Regions from separate parts of the Homo sapiens genome. Here regions 2 and 3 are each linked to region 1. Evidence: promoter capture Hi-C in 16 types of primary human blood cells and fetal thymus (Javierre and others, 2016). All regions are on one chromosome and are shown on one strand. Each heading gives the region's core, a stretch centred on a gene start or on the middle of the fragment in contact. The rest is flanking DNA. Distances are from core to core; before and after follow the strand shown.

The links. The method cuts DNA at HindIII sites, captures the fragments that hold promoters and counts their contacts. A CHiCAGO score of 5 or more calls a contact.
Region 2: a contact is called between a fragment that was not itself captured here and the fragment with the promoter of FGF17 in region 1, in 4 of 17 cell types (total CD4 T cells, naive CD8 T cells, non-activated CD4 T cells and 1 more). The highest score is 8.6, in total CD4 T cells.
Region 3: a contact is called between a fragment that was not itself captured here and the fragment with the promoter of FGF17 in region 1, in 4 of 17 cell types (naive CD8 T cells, non-activated CD4 T cells, naive CD4 T cells and 1 more). The highest score is 7.0, in naive CD8 T cells.

What each region holds. Positions count from the first base shown.
Region 1 is chr8:22,040,534-22,044,451 of GRCh38, reverse strand. FGF17 (fibroblast growth factor 17) reads right to left here and starts at 1,632. Exons shown (of 5, transcript NM_003867.4): 1 at 1,489-1,632; 2 at 1,271-1,307. The coding sequence starts at 1,523. RefSeq lists an enhancer at 1-874. The HindIII fragment of the contact is 13,376 bases long and covers 1-3,918 here.
Region 2 is chr8:20,452,061-20,455,978 of GRCh38, reverse strand. No RefSeq gene overlaps it. Among named protein-coding and RNA genes, the nearest start is that of LZTS1, 150 kb to the right of the region's middle. The HindIII fragment of the contact is 163 bases long and covers 1,732-1,894 here.
Region 3 is chr8:20,492,476-20,496,393 of GRCh38, reverse strand. No RefSeq gene overlaps it. Among named protein-coding and RNA genes, the nearest start is that of SNORD3F, 120 kb to the left of the region's middle. RefSeq lists an enhancer at 2,500-3,038. The HindIII fragment of the contact is 288 bases long and covers 1,818-2,105 here.

The DNA of each region.
Region 1 (3,918 bases), core at 383-2,882:
AGCCCCACGCCCCCCCACAGCCCACAACCCACAAGTCCCTCTCCCCGCGGGACCTAGCCTGTCCCTTTCATGTTCCCGCTGCGGGAGGACCTCCCCTTCCACCACTGCAGACAGCTGCTTGTCAGACAGCCCCTCAAGCATGGCTGTGGTCCGGCCTGCTGGCCCCCCCTCCCAGGGGGGTGAGGGGGCACTTCAAGGGGGAAAGGACCGCTTTGCCACCTTCCCTGAGTCCTGAATGGGGCCTCAGCCAGGCCATAAACGCCCGGCCAGCCGCACCATTGTGCTAGTTCCCCTCCAGAACAGGTTGGGCCCACCCCCAGCCCCCTCCCAGCCAGGCTGGGGGCTTTCTTCTGGCTCCCCCTGGATGTGTGAAGCAAAAGGCCTGGAACGGGGCTGGAGCAAAAGGGGGAAGGAAGGGGGGGGGAATTGTCTCTCCCTCTCCCACCCCCCCACTGCTTCAAAGGCTGCCCCTTTCCCTCTCCCAGAGAAAAGGCATTTACCTTCAAAAAAAGTCCCCACTGGATATGAAGAGAAGCGGGCCTCTGGCCTGGGAAAGCCAAGCGATCTCTCCCCAGAGCGGTTCTGGACCAGTGCATTTTAATAGCTGCACTTTTATGGAGGATCACAAAAAAGGGAGCAAGCCTCGCACTGGGGGCTGAGACTTGGGGGTGGGAGGTGTGCATGGAGGGAGGTGGGGGGCCGACTTGGGGTGGGGGGAGTGTGGAGAAGCGAACCCTGCATCCCGTCCCAAACAAACCTCTTTGGGCTTGACCTCTGTGCCCTCTAGGTGAGGAGTCACCTCACCCTGGCCAGGCATTCTGGACATGCTCACGAGACCCCCACCCCAGGCATCCATATTGATGGGAGTGGGGTGGCGAGAAGGACATACAAGTGGTCTTGCATCAAAACCTGTCCTTTCAGGTACTGGCAAACCCAAGCCTCACCTGAGCCATCACCTCCACCTGCTTCCAACCGCTCCAGGCTCCATCCCTCAAGTCTGGGGGAACCCGATGGAGAGGGAGGAAGAGGAGCAGAGACCCAGGGGAAGTGGGGAGGGTCCTCAGAGGGAGGACAGAGACAAAACCTCAGTCAGCCCCCTTCCCTGCCCACCCGGTCAAAGGCTCACTCCCCTCCAAACCTCAGTGCCTCCTGGACCCAGGGAGAGGCCAGACTCTGCCTCTGTCCACCTGAAAGGAGCCGGTCCCTTGCACCCGCCCTGGTCAGGTAGGGTGGAAAAATTGGGGGAAAGCCGGTGGGAATGCCCGCCTACCTGAGTTTGACAGCAGAGAATCAGCAGCTGTAAGCACCTGTGTGGGGAGAGGAGGTAAGCCCAGGTGTGGGTGCCAGCTGCAAGCCTAGGGTGCACCCAGGCCCCCGCCCCCGCCCTGCCAGCCCCGTGCACGCACGCGTGGGAGTCCCGGGAAGAGGAGGGCTGCCCTGAGGCTGGAAATGGCAACGAAACTCCAGTGGGAGAGGTAGCACACTTACAGAGTGAGGTTGGGCAGCAGGCGGGCGGCTCCCATCGCTGGAGAGGTTCCTCAGGCGGTTGCCCCCCTGCCCCCAAGCTCAGGAGCAGATGTGGGAAGTCCCCAGGGGTAGAGTCCCAGAGAAGCCAAGGTCTCTCCGAGCCACAGGTTTTCAGGGGGGCGAGGAGGAGAGAAAGGGGAGGAGGAGGAGAGAAAAGAGGGAGGAGGAGGGGGAGGAGGAGGGCGTAATTGGGAGACTGAGGTATGAGGTGTCCACCTTCCTGGCCAGTGAGGCTGCAAAGCAGATGCGGGTGGGGGCGTGCGCGCTGTGCCCTCTGGGCTGCCAGTCTCTCCTGGGCCACCCAGTGCAGGGATGGAGCGGTGGGGGCCTTCTGAAGGAGGTGGCCCTGCTGTCTCCTGCTCTATTCCTGACCCTCACAGACTGGCCAAACTCGACGCAGACAAACTCGATGTGTGGCAGGTCAGGGAGGGGGAGCCCTTCCAGGTCTGCGTCTCCTGCACTCAGGTCTGGCGCCCCACCTCCCCAAGGGTGAGCCGCAGGTGTCAAGTGGGGCTGGGGTCTCTGGTTCTGGCTCTGGAGTGGAAATTCCCAGAAGCAGCCTTAAAAGGAGCCGCCTCCCTCCAGGGGGCAGGGGTGGGCTTGGCTTGGAGCAGCTGATTGCCCGGGAAGGAGGGGTTAAGGCTGTCCTGATCGGCAGCAAATACTGGGCGCAACAGGTTGGGGGTCAGAGGTGGGTTGGCAGGTACAGATGGAGATCTAGGAAGAATCCCAATGGAGAGTTGCAAAAGCTAGCCTGAGACAGACACTTGGAGAAGAGCTGGGTGTCCTGGCCTAAGCCCCTTTTCCTTGGGCCTCTGTAGTTCCATCTGAGAAATGAGGACAGTAATGCCTCAGGGTGTTGGGGGGTCAAGTGTGAAATCAGCACATAGCAGACTTCAAGATGTCTGTGTTCTGAGACCCAGCTCCACTCACCATTCTGCATCCCCTTCCTTCCAGTGCCTGTCCCTAGAGCCTCTCTGAGCTAGGAGCAGCTCGGAGTCCCCTCCCTGTGTCCCATGTCCCTGAGCAGCTGCCTGGGATGAAGTGCCTACCAGCCTCTTCCCATGACCTCCGGTCTCATACTGCTCGGTACAATGCCAGCGACTAGCCCATTTTGCAGATGAGGAAACTGAGGCACATTGGGAGGTAGTTTGCTCAGAATGGCCCAGCTAGTGAATGGAATAGCCAGAATGGAAAAGTCCATGCTTCTTCTGTTCTGCATGGATTGAGTTGCCACCCTGCAGATCCAGCCCCAAACCTGCTTCATTGTAGGGATACAGAAGCCTTCCTGGGTTTTCAGGATTAAAGGTGGAATCCGAGGTCCTGGAGACCGGTGAACAGAGAGCTCCATGCTGTTCCCTCCCTACAGAAAAGTGGATGACGGTGACTGCAGAAGATAGGAGGGCTTGGGGGTCTCTGAGGGAAGACCCAGTGTGAGCAAGCAGAGCTCAGGCCTCAGCTCTGGGCTCCCTGGAGTTCTCAGCGCCCCCAGGGTGGGAAGGGAAGGGGAAGTGGCGGATGTGGATTTATTTACCTAAAGAGATGACCAGGGGAGCGAAACTCTCACCTGTGGGTCCCTTCTCACCTTCCTGAGCTCCATCAATCCACAAAGTGGTCTGCCACCCCTGCCCCCATGCACTGACCAGTGCAGGCAGCTCCGGGGTCTCCTCTCCGCAGGCTCTTCCTCGGGAACCCAGCCCAGGAGTGGGTGCTGCCTGAGCTTGTGTGGGGAGGATGGGGCAAGCCCTGGCCTTGCTTACCTGGGGGAGTCCAGGGTTTTGGAATGCAACTCAAAGAATGTCAAACCTAGAAGGGGTCTTAGGGATTCATCATTTGTTCCAACTTCCTCATTCCTTGGATGAGAGCCAGAGAGGGCAAGGGACTCGCCCAAAGCCTCACAGCTAGCTGGTGGCATGGCTGGGACAAGGTACCAGGTGCCCGCGTGCCCACCTCTCTGCTTTCCCCCTGCGGATCCTTCAGGTCACTTCTGTTCCGCGTTCTTCCCATCATCTGCAGTCTGGGTTACACTCTGCCTCTTCTGGCAGCTCTGGCTCATTCCCTGAGAAACCTTCAACCTCACATCCACATCCTCACCACTCCCAGCCCCCAGGCAGGGCATTAAAGAGAGCACAGACACGTGGAGGGGACAGCTCAGGCCTTGGGTTGGTGGAGGTGTCAGCTGGGGGGCGAAAGGTGGGTAACGGTTCCAATTTATGCTGTCGGGACTCACTGGCCATGGGGACAGTGGGAGCCACTCAAGGCCTCTGAGCCCAAGCACCTGTTTCTATCCATGGGGACAGGGCCTGCCATCACTGGCCCAGCCCTCAGGCCAGCCTGGGTCTCCATGGTAACAGATGCCAGCAGTCAAGCTGGGCCTCGGGGCTTAGCCAG
Region 2 (3,918 bases), core at 564-3,063, 1.6 Mb after region 1:
ATTTGGGGCTGCGGGTGGTGGTCTGCAGTGACTCCGATCTTGAGAGTTGGGGCACACTGCACAGCTTGCATGATAACGCCATGCAGAAGCAGAGACACATCCCTGGTCACTTCCCTCCCTGGTTTTCTGAAGAGCTACCGCTACCTGTAAAACATTTTCCTTTGAGCCCTCAGGCTTCAGGTGAAATGCTGATGCTAATCTTCCTCCAGATGCACGCATCCCCCCTGCTGTCTGCATTGCCAATGGGTAGCACAGGACACAGTACAAGGTGCTCCCCATGAGGCTGCTGTGCTTTGGACCCAGACGATCCCCCTCTATGACTCTTGGATGGGTTACTTTACCTCTCTGAGCCTCAGTGTTCTTCCTTATAAAATTGGGGTGATACGTTACACTTCCCTGGGTTGGGGCTCATTGGTGATTATTGCACCAAATTTCTGAGCCTCATTCATGAGGCCCCTGAATTCTTTTCTTCTCAGGAGCTTCTGAGGAAGGCTCAGCCTTGGGTAAAGTCAGAGTATTCCGTATCTTCCAGCCCAGAATTTGATGGGTGTCTTCCTGGTCTGTCCTGATGTCTGTGATGTCAGCAGTGCCAGCCTGTTGCAGCCGTACAATGTGTCTGATGTTCTGTCCCTGCCCAGATGTGCAACCTTGGGAACCCCTTAAGGCTCTTCCCTCTCCTCCTTCAAACAGGAGTCTCCGGCCAGGTCTTTGGGAATCTTCCAGCTCTCACATCCACATGCTAAGACTGGGGAAAGATGACCAGGCATGGTGGCTCAGGTCTACAACCCCAGCATTTGGGAAGGCCAAGGCAGGAGGATCGCTTGAACCCAGGAGTTCAAGACCAGCCTAGGCAACATAGTGAGACCCCATCTCTATAAAAAATAGAAAAAAGGCTGGGTGTGGTGGCTCATGCCTGTAATCCCAGCATTTTGGGAGGCCGAGGCTGGTAGATCACGAGGTCAAGAGATCGAGACCATCCTGGCCAACATGGTGAAACCTCATCTCTACTAAAAATATAAAAATTAGCCAGGCATGGTGGCAGGCACCTGTAGTCCCAGCTACTCAGGAGGCTGAAGCAGGAGAATCACTTGAACCTGGAAGGCGGAGGTTGCAGTGAGCCGAGATTGTGCCATCGCACTCCAGCCTGGCGACAGAGTGAGACTCCGTCTCAAAAAAAAAAAAAGGAAAAAATCAGGCAGATGTGGTGGTGCATGCCTGTAGTCTCACCTTCTCAGGAGGCTGAGGTGAGAGGATCACTTGAGCTTGTAAGGTCGAGGTTGCAGTAAGCCATGATTATGCTACTGCACTCCAGTCAGGGTGATAGACTGAAACCCTGTCTCAGAATAACAAAGAGAGAGAAAGAGAGGCTGGGGGCAGAGGGGGTGGGGAGCCAGCACCAGTGGCTTTCTTCTATCTTCTCTTTAAAAGCAACTGCTCCTGGGAGAAGTGACACATTCATCTCTTAAAGTATGTTTTAACGTCTTCTGTGGCAACTGCCTTTCAATCTTGCTACCTTGAGATGTTCCCACCAAACGGGGAGAGAGAGAGGAGGACAGCAACCTAAAAGATAAAACTGTAGGCCATCAGATCAAATCATTAAAGGGATCATGCGAATTAGCCCATCTTCATCACTTTCCTCAAACGCTTGTCAGCAACAAATATTTAATGAGCACCTGCTAAGTACAAGCTACTTTGCAAGGTACAAAAGAGGCCCCCTGTCTTCAGAAAGCTTGTATTCAGGATAGAACAACAGGATTCATTTTCATGAAAAAAAGCTGAAAACATAGAGCTTGATGCCTCTGGGGTGAACAAGGAGACAGAGGGTGGTGTGAGCTTAGCACCCGGGCTGAGGAGTGCAGCTTTGTCTGCCAGCTCTCCACACCCCGAGCAAGCTTCTATCGTGTGTCCTCGCCTTTCCCCAGGACCTGAGAGGACCTCGCAGCCCACTCTGCCTTCAGCTTCTGTCCAGCCCCCTCTAAAGGCCCCCACAAGGAAGTGCACACAATACAGGTTAGATCTTTCACTCCCTTCTGAATATAGCTTCTCACTTGCTATAGAAAAGGCTCCAAACTCATTGGCAATGGGATGGTCCAGAAATCCTCCTCTCTCTCGGAACTAACCTGCCCACGAGCATGTTCCGTTCACACTCTTCTATCAGCCTTGGAAAGCATCTTCCCCACTCTCCCCAGCCTCCTTCTCCTCCTCTTCTTACTTATAAAAATCTAGCTCACCCTCGAGGCACAATGTAAATGACATGGATGTGGGGAGGCCACGTCGTACCTGACTGTGTGTCCAGGGCTCTTGCTATCACACAGGGTATGCTCTGTGGATCAGGAGCACTGGCGGACATCAGGGCTTGTCAGGAATATAGAGTCTCAGGCCTTGCCCCATAACCACTGAAACACACTCTGTTTTAACAAAATTCGTGGCTGCGTCTGATGGCTCACGCCTGTAATCCCAGCACTCTGGGAGGCCAAGGTGGAAGGATTGCTTGAGATTAGGAGTTCAAGACCAGCCTGCCCAACATGGTGAAACTCCATCTCTCCTAAAAATACAACAACAAATAAAAACCTAGCTGGGCATGGTGGCATGCACCTGTAGTCCCAGCTACTTGGGAGGCTGAGACAGGAGAATCACTTGAACCCAGGAGCCAGAGGCTGCAGTCAGCCGAGATCATGCCATTGCACTTCAGCCTGGATGACAGAGCAACTCTGTCTCAAAAAAAAAAAAAAAAAAAAAAATCCATGAGTGCTTCACATGCAAAATAAAGTACGACAAGTTCTGTCTAGAGAATGCCTTGTACACAGTGCCTCACGCATTGTAGTCATTCAGGAGGTGTTTGTTGAGTGAATAAGTGAGTGAATCCAGGAAAGATCATCAAAGCCCAGTCATGGTTTCACCCACAGCCAGTCCTGAAACCCAGAGATGCTTCTTAGCTGTTTAAATAGAGTTATCGACACAACCCAAGAACCTCCCACACTCTCCTCTCACTTTATTTCTCCACTTCCTCCTCCAGAATCAGGCACCTCCCACCTCCCATGGACAGCCACATCCCAAGCTCAAAAATGTAATTAGAAAAAGTAGTTTTTACAGCAGCTCATCTATAACCCACCCTATAGCCCTGCCTTTGTGGAAGGAGGCAGTCCATCAGGGGGTGTGAGTGATGGGCCAACCAGCAGACCAAGGCAGGGAGGAAGCCCTGCTCCCATCCGTCATCCCTTCTCCCTCGATCACCCTGCAGACCGCACAGCAACGCAGAAATGGCCCCCTCCAGGCCTGCAGGCGGCTGGCGGCTCTTCATCAACCTCAGCACTGCTTCTCCCACACACATCACCTCATGCTCTTTGTAACTTCCAGCAGAAGAGCCTTCCGTAAAGACTGCTGGGAAAATCCCAGGGAGAGAGGCCTGCCATCCGGCGTAACAAGGAAGGCAGGTTACCTCTTAACCATTGATCCCCCTCACTCTCGTCCCACCCCAAACACCTGGGAAACCCCATAGATGGGCAGTCAGCCTTACCCTACAGCAAACGCCAATCACCCTCTGAAAATAAGGCACTGACTTGTGGACTGTCAAAAAGTCTCATGAAGACCACTCTCACTCCAAGCTCCATTTTCCATACATCAGCCAAGGACTCATGCTACACATTTTGAGGAATATAAACAACAACAAAAAGCAATATATTATTTATGTTACTTTGACTTCGTGTAATGTTTTGCTCCCATCAAATTGTTTTCATATCCATTATCTCTTGAGTCAGGCAGACAGGAACTGTTATCACCATTTCACAGATGGAGAACCTGAGATGCAGAGAGGTTAAGCCTCTTCCCGTTTTTTGTGATTTATACCCTCCCTATGTTCAGGAAGGATTTTCTACAGCTTAAAATAAAATGATATTTACATAATGACTCGCATTTGAA
Region 3 (3,918 bases), core at 712-3,211, 1.5 Mb after region 1:
CAAGGGTACTGATTCCATTACGAGGGTTCCACCCTTATGACCTAATCACTTTCCAAAGGCCCCACCTCCTAACACCATCACACCGGGGGTTCTGAGTTCAGCTTATGAATTTGGGGAAACAAAATCATGCAGTCCATAACTCCCAATTTTCCTTCAGGATCCATTTTTCCTGTAATTTTTCAGGAAGCATGTCAATGACAGTTCAATTAAGTACTTTACATGCCAGTTCTAGTGCTAGGAACACTAAATACATTTAAGCTTCAAATTAGACATGATTATCCTCATTTTACAGAAAAAGAAAGGAAGACCAGAGGGATTGCAGTATTTCCCTCAATCACTCAGTTTTGGGGCAACAAAGCTTGTACTAAGGCCCCCTCCAGAGTCTTCTCTATGTACAACATGGAGACATCCCAGGCAGGTGGTACACAGAAGGCACACAGGCCAGGAATAAGGCCCAGGCCAGTGTCCTGGGCACCTGCTGCCACCGACCAGCCACAGGGTCTCACGGACCACCTCGGAGTTTGAGTTTCTAATATGTAAAATCAGTGTTGGGCCTTCGCTCTCCATGTGTTATAAGTTTCTTAAGGAGGTTAAGGCCTATCTGAAAGAGCCAAAGGGGTTAAAACCTGCAAAATGTGGGGTGGGAGCACGTGCATCCCAGCAGGAGAGATTAGCAGTCCTGGAGGGGGGGGATCTGGTGGGGGAGGGATAAGGCAAGTGGAGTTGTGAAGATGCTGAGGTTTTAGACTTAAGACCTTAAACAAGTCAGATGGAGATGGGGTCTCCATTTGTGTCAAGTAGGGCAACCAGGGCTGGTGACATAGGACACAGTGCAGGCAGCTTCACTCTGGGGACTTTGGCTTCATGGCAGTGGCTCAGGAAAGACTCTGGACCCCAGGAGGTCACAGCCCCAGGAGCTGGCTGGGATCGTGGAGACTGTCTGATGTGAGCACACAATGGAGGAATGTGCCCCCCGGAGCCCACATGCACTCATTTCTCTTCTCTACAAGTCTTTGGCTGCTGGAAGAACCCAGGTGCAGAGAGTTGGCCAACCCTTAACCTCTTGGGCTCAAGCAATCCTCCCACCTCAGCCTTGTGAATAGCTGGGAATACAGGCACGTGTCACCACACCAAGCTATTTTTTTAACATTTTTTTATAGAGATGAGGGGTCTCACTATGTTGTCCAGGCTTGTCTCGAACTCCTGGGCTCAAGTGCTCTTTATACCTTAGCCTCCCAAAGTGCTGATTAGAGGCATAAGCCACCATGCTGGCCAACTCAGCTTTTCAAGTAGTTCCTCTTATCTTTTGTTATGTAACTGTTCACACCCTGTTCCTTTAGGGTTTTGTTAAAGGCCAACCATCTAACCCCAAGTCAGTGGTTCTCTCTGAACATTTAATCCCTAAAAACAACAACATCACATTCAACTCACAAAAGGCCCAACTGCATTATGGTAACCAGGGTTGAAATTCACCTCAGCAGACTTCCAAAACTCACATGGCTGGGATCTAAGTAGGCAAATGCCTGTATTATATGTCTCTGTGATGGTAAATGGGGCTAAGTCACCAGAGTCCAGGAGCCTCACACTTCTGCCAGGAGCCATGGAGCGACATGGCTGCTCTCCTCTCACCCTTCCCTTCAGGGGCCCCAACAGGCTTCCCAGGCCTCAGCGGATAGACGTGAACTTTCCAGCCCCTGGGCTGAGGTGTCTCAAGGGACTTCTTGAATTACAGACCCAGACACCAAGAAGCCTCCCCTTCTCCATTTGGGTGTGCTGTGGCAAAAAGAGAACAATTCCCTCCTTTCCACCTCCAAGCTTGTTTTTAGCTCTCTCTCTCTCCTAGCACCTAACTCATCAGCATACAGAGTAGTTTTGATAGAACCCCTATAAGGCTTTCTCTCCAAAGAGGGATTTTAATACCCTTCTCAGTGACATTTTATATGATAACAGTATGTAAGTTTGACAGGAAGCTGTTTTCCAAGAGTTAAAGTCCAAACAGTCCCACAGATCAGACTGATAATGGCTTTCCTGATCATTATTAAATTCCCTGTGATTAGAAAATGGGCCGGTGCTATTGATTTAAGCTCTTTGAGTTAAGCTAAGCTTTAGAGGGCTTTCACAAGGCACAAAAAGGGCATTTGAGACTGTATTTTACCTTCCCAATTAAAGTAGTTTTCAGAGTACAAACAGCAGACAGCCAGACATTAGGCAGGCGTTCCAGAAAGAAAGGTGGAAGCATTTGTCCAGAACATGGAACCAGAAGACAAGCCCCATCACAGCCAAGACAAGCCCCATCACAGCCAATGCTGCAAAGTGCAGACAGAGGTTGAGGCTCAAATTCCCTAAGAAAAAAGGCTTCCTACTCCCAACAGTGCCTGGGTCAATGACACTTTGAATTCAACCTCAAAGCATCTATAGGTGATAAGAATTTCCAGTCCTAGAATTTTGAGTTTCAAGGATTTCAATTTCAATTTCAAGGATTTTTTCATGTGGTCTTTCAATCATGGTCAAGCTGTCTATACAAATTTTGCATCAAGAAATTATCGCCAAATCTCCAAAGGCTAAAGATTCCAGATTACTTTTTCAGCTTAATAAGTGAGAAAAGAATGAAGGCAACGGTGTTTCTATTACAATCTAAAGCTCTAGAGAAAACAAGGATCCCTAGAGGAAAATCTTGAGCAATTGCAGGGTCTTAAGTGCTTTGTGTCTTTCTGAAGGAAAGACACTTGAGGTTTTTAGGTGCGCCTGCAGTGCCTATTTGTTGCCCAGACAATAAGCAGTTTGAGCGACTGTGCTCAGGCCCCTGAGCATTTCTTCTCTTGACTGCCTGTCTTCTAATCCGCCCCAACCCCAGGAGAGCTTTTCTGAAACCAGTTGCTTCCTCTCCAGCTGGGAGGTCTTGGTGCCCAATGTCTTTGATTCTGCCCACAAGGGGCTCAGCATCCAAGCTAGGAGCCTTGTCATACGCATCCTGTCACTGTTTTTTTTCTTTTTTCAAACCATGATCAAAAGTAAGAAACTTATTTTTAAACCACAACCCAGCCTGTGACAGGCATTTAAGACAAAAACGAAAGTTTCAGCAAATAATACTCATGCGTACTAGGGGCATTTTGATGTCACAGCCCGCAAAATTGATGTTATGGTTCCAACAGGTGTCAGCCTGCAAAATGAAAACTGCTCGGTGTTATCAAGGATCACAAACATTCCTTTAAAATGTATTTATTTAGCAATTACTTAGAGAGCACAGGGCATGTGCCTGTGTTAACTGTTGTATGGGGACAGGGAAGAATATGGAAGTCTCTCCCCTCAAGCAGCTCACAATTGACATGGAGAGGCATAACTGATATGTAGGAAGATGTAAATAGCAATGCCTAAGAGATTGGTGTTCAGATGGAGCATGGGTCTGTGCAGTAGAGATACCAGGAGGGAGAGGTGGGGAGGGGCCTGCACACTGAGGAGGTTGGGAAAGCTGCAAGGCAACTGTTATCATCCTTGGGGGAGCTGTAACTCCTGCACCTTACTATCCCTTGCAGGTACATGTGCATCACAGGCTTTCAATAATTGTGCATTGAATGGCTCTCTGGTTAGATCATATTAAGGTTGTGAAGGAATCCAATCGCCAATGCTTGTTGAGCAAACTAAAGTATGCCTGGGTCTGTGCTGGGAGTTTAACCTAGTTATCATATTTACTCCTCGTGACAAGCTAGTGTAGTAGTTGCTATTGTCCCATATTTAATGGTGAGGAAATTGACCCTGAGACATGTTCAATGGCTTACCCAAGGTCGCGCAACTTAAGTAAGGTGAGGATCTAAGACTTAAACCTAGACTTTTAAATCCAAAGCACTTGCTCCTTCCACTCCCTTGAGGACCACATAGATTTAGATAGCCTTAGGGGAGACCAATGAGGACAGAGTCTAG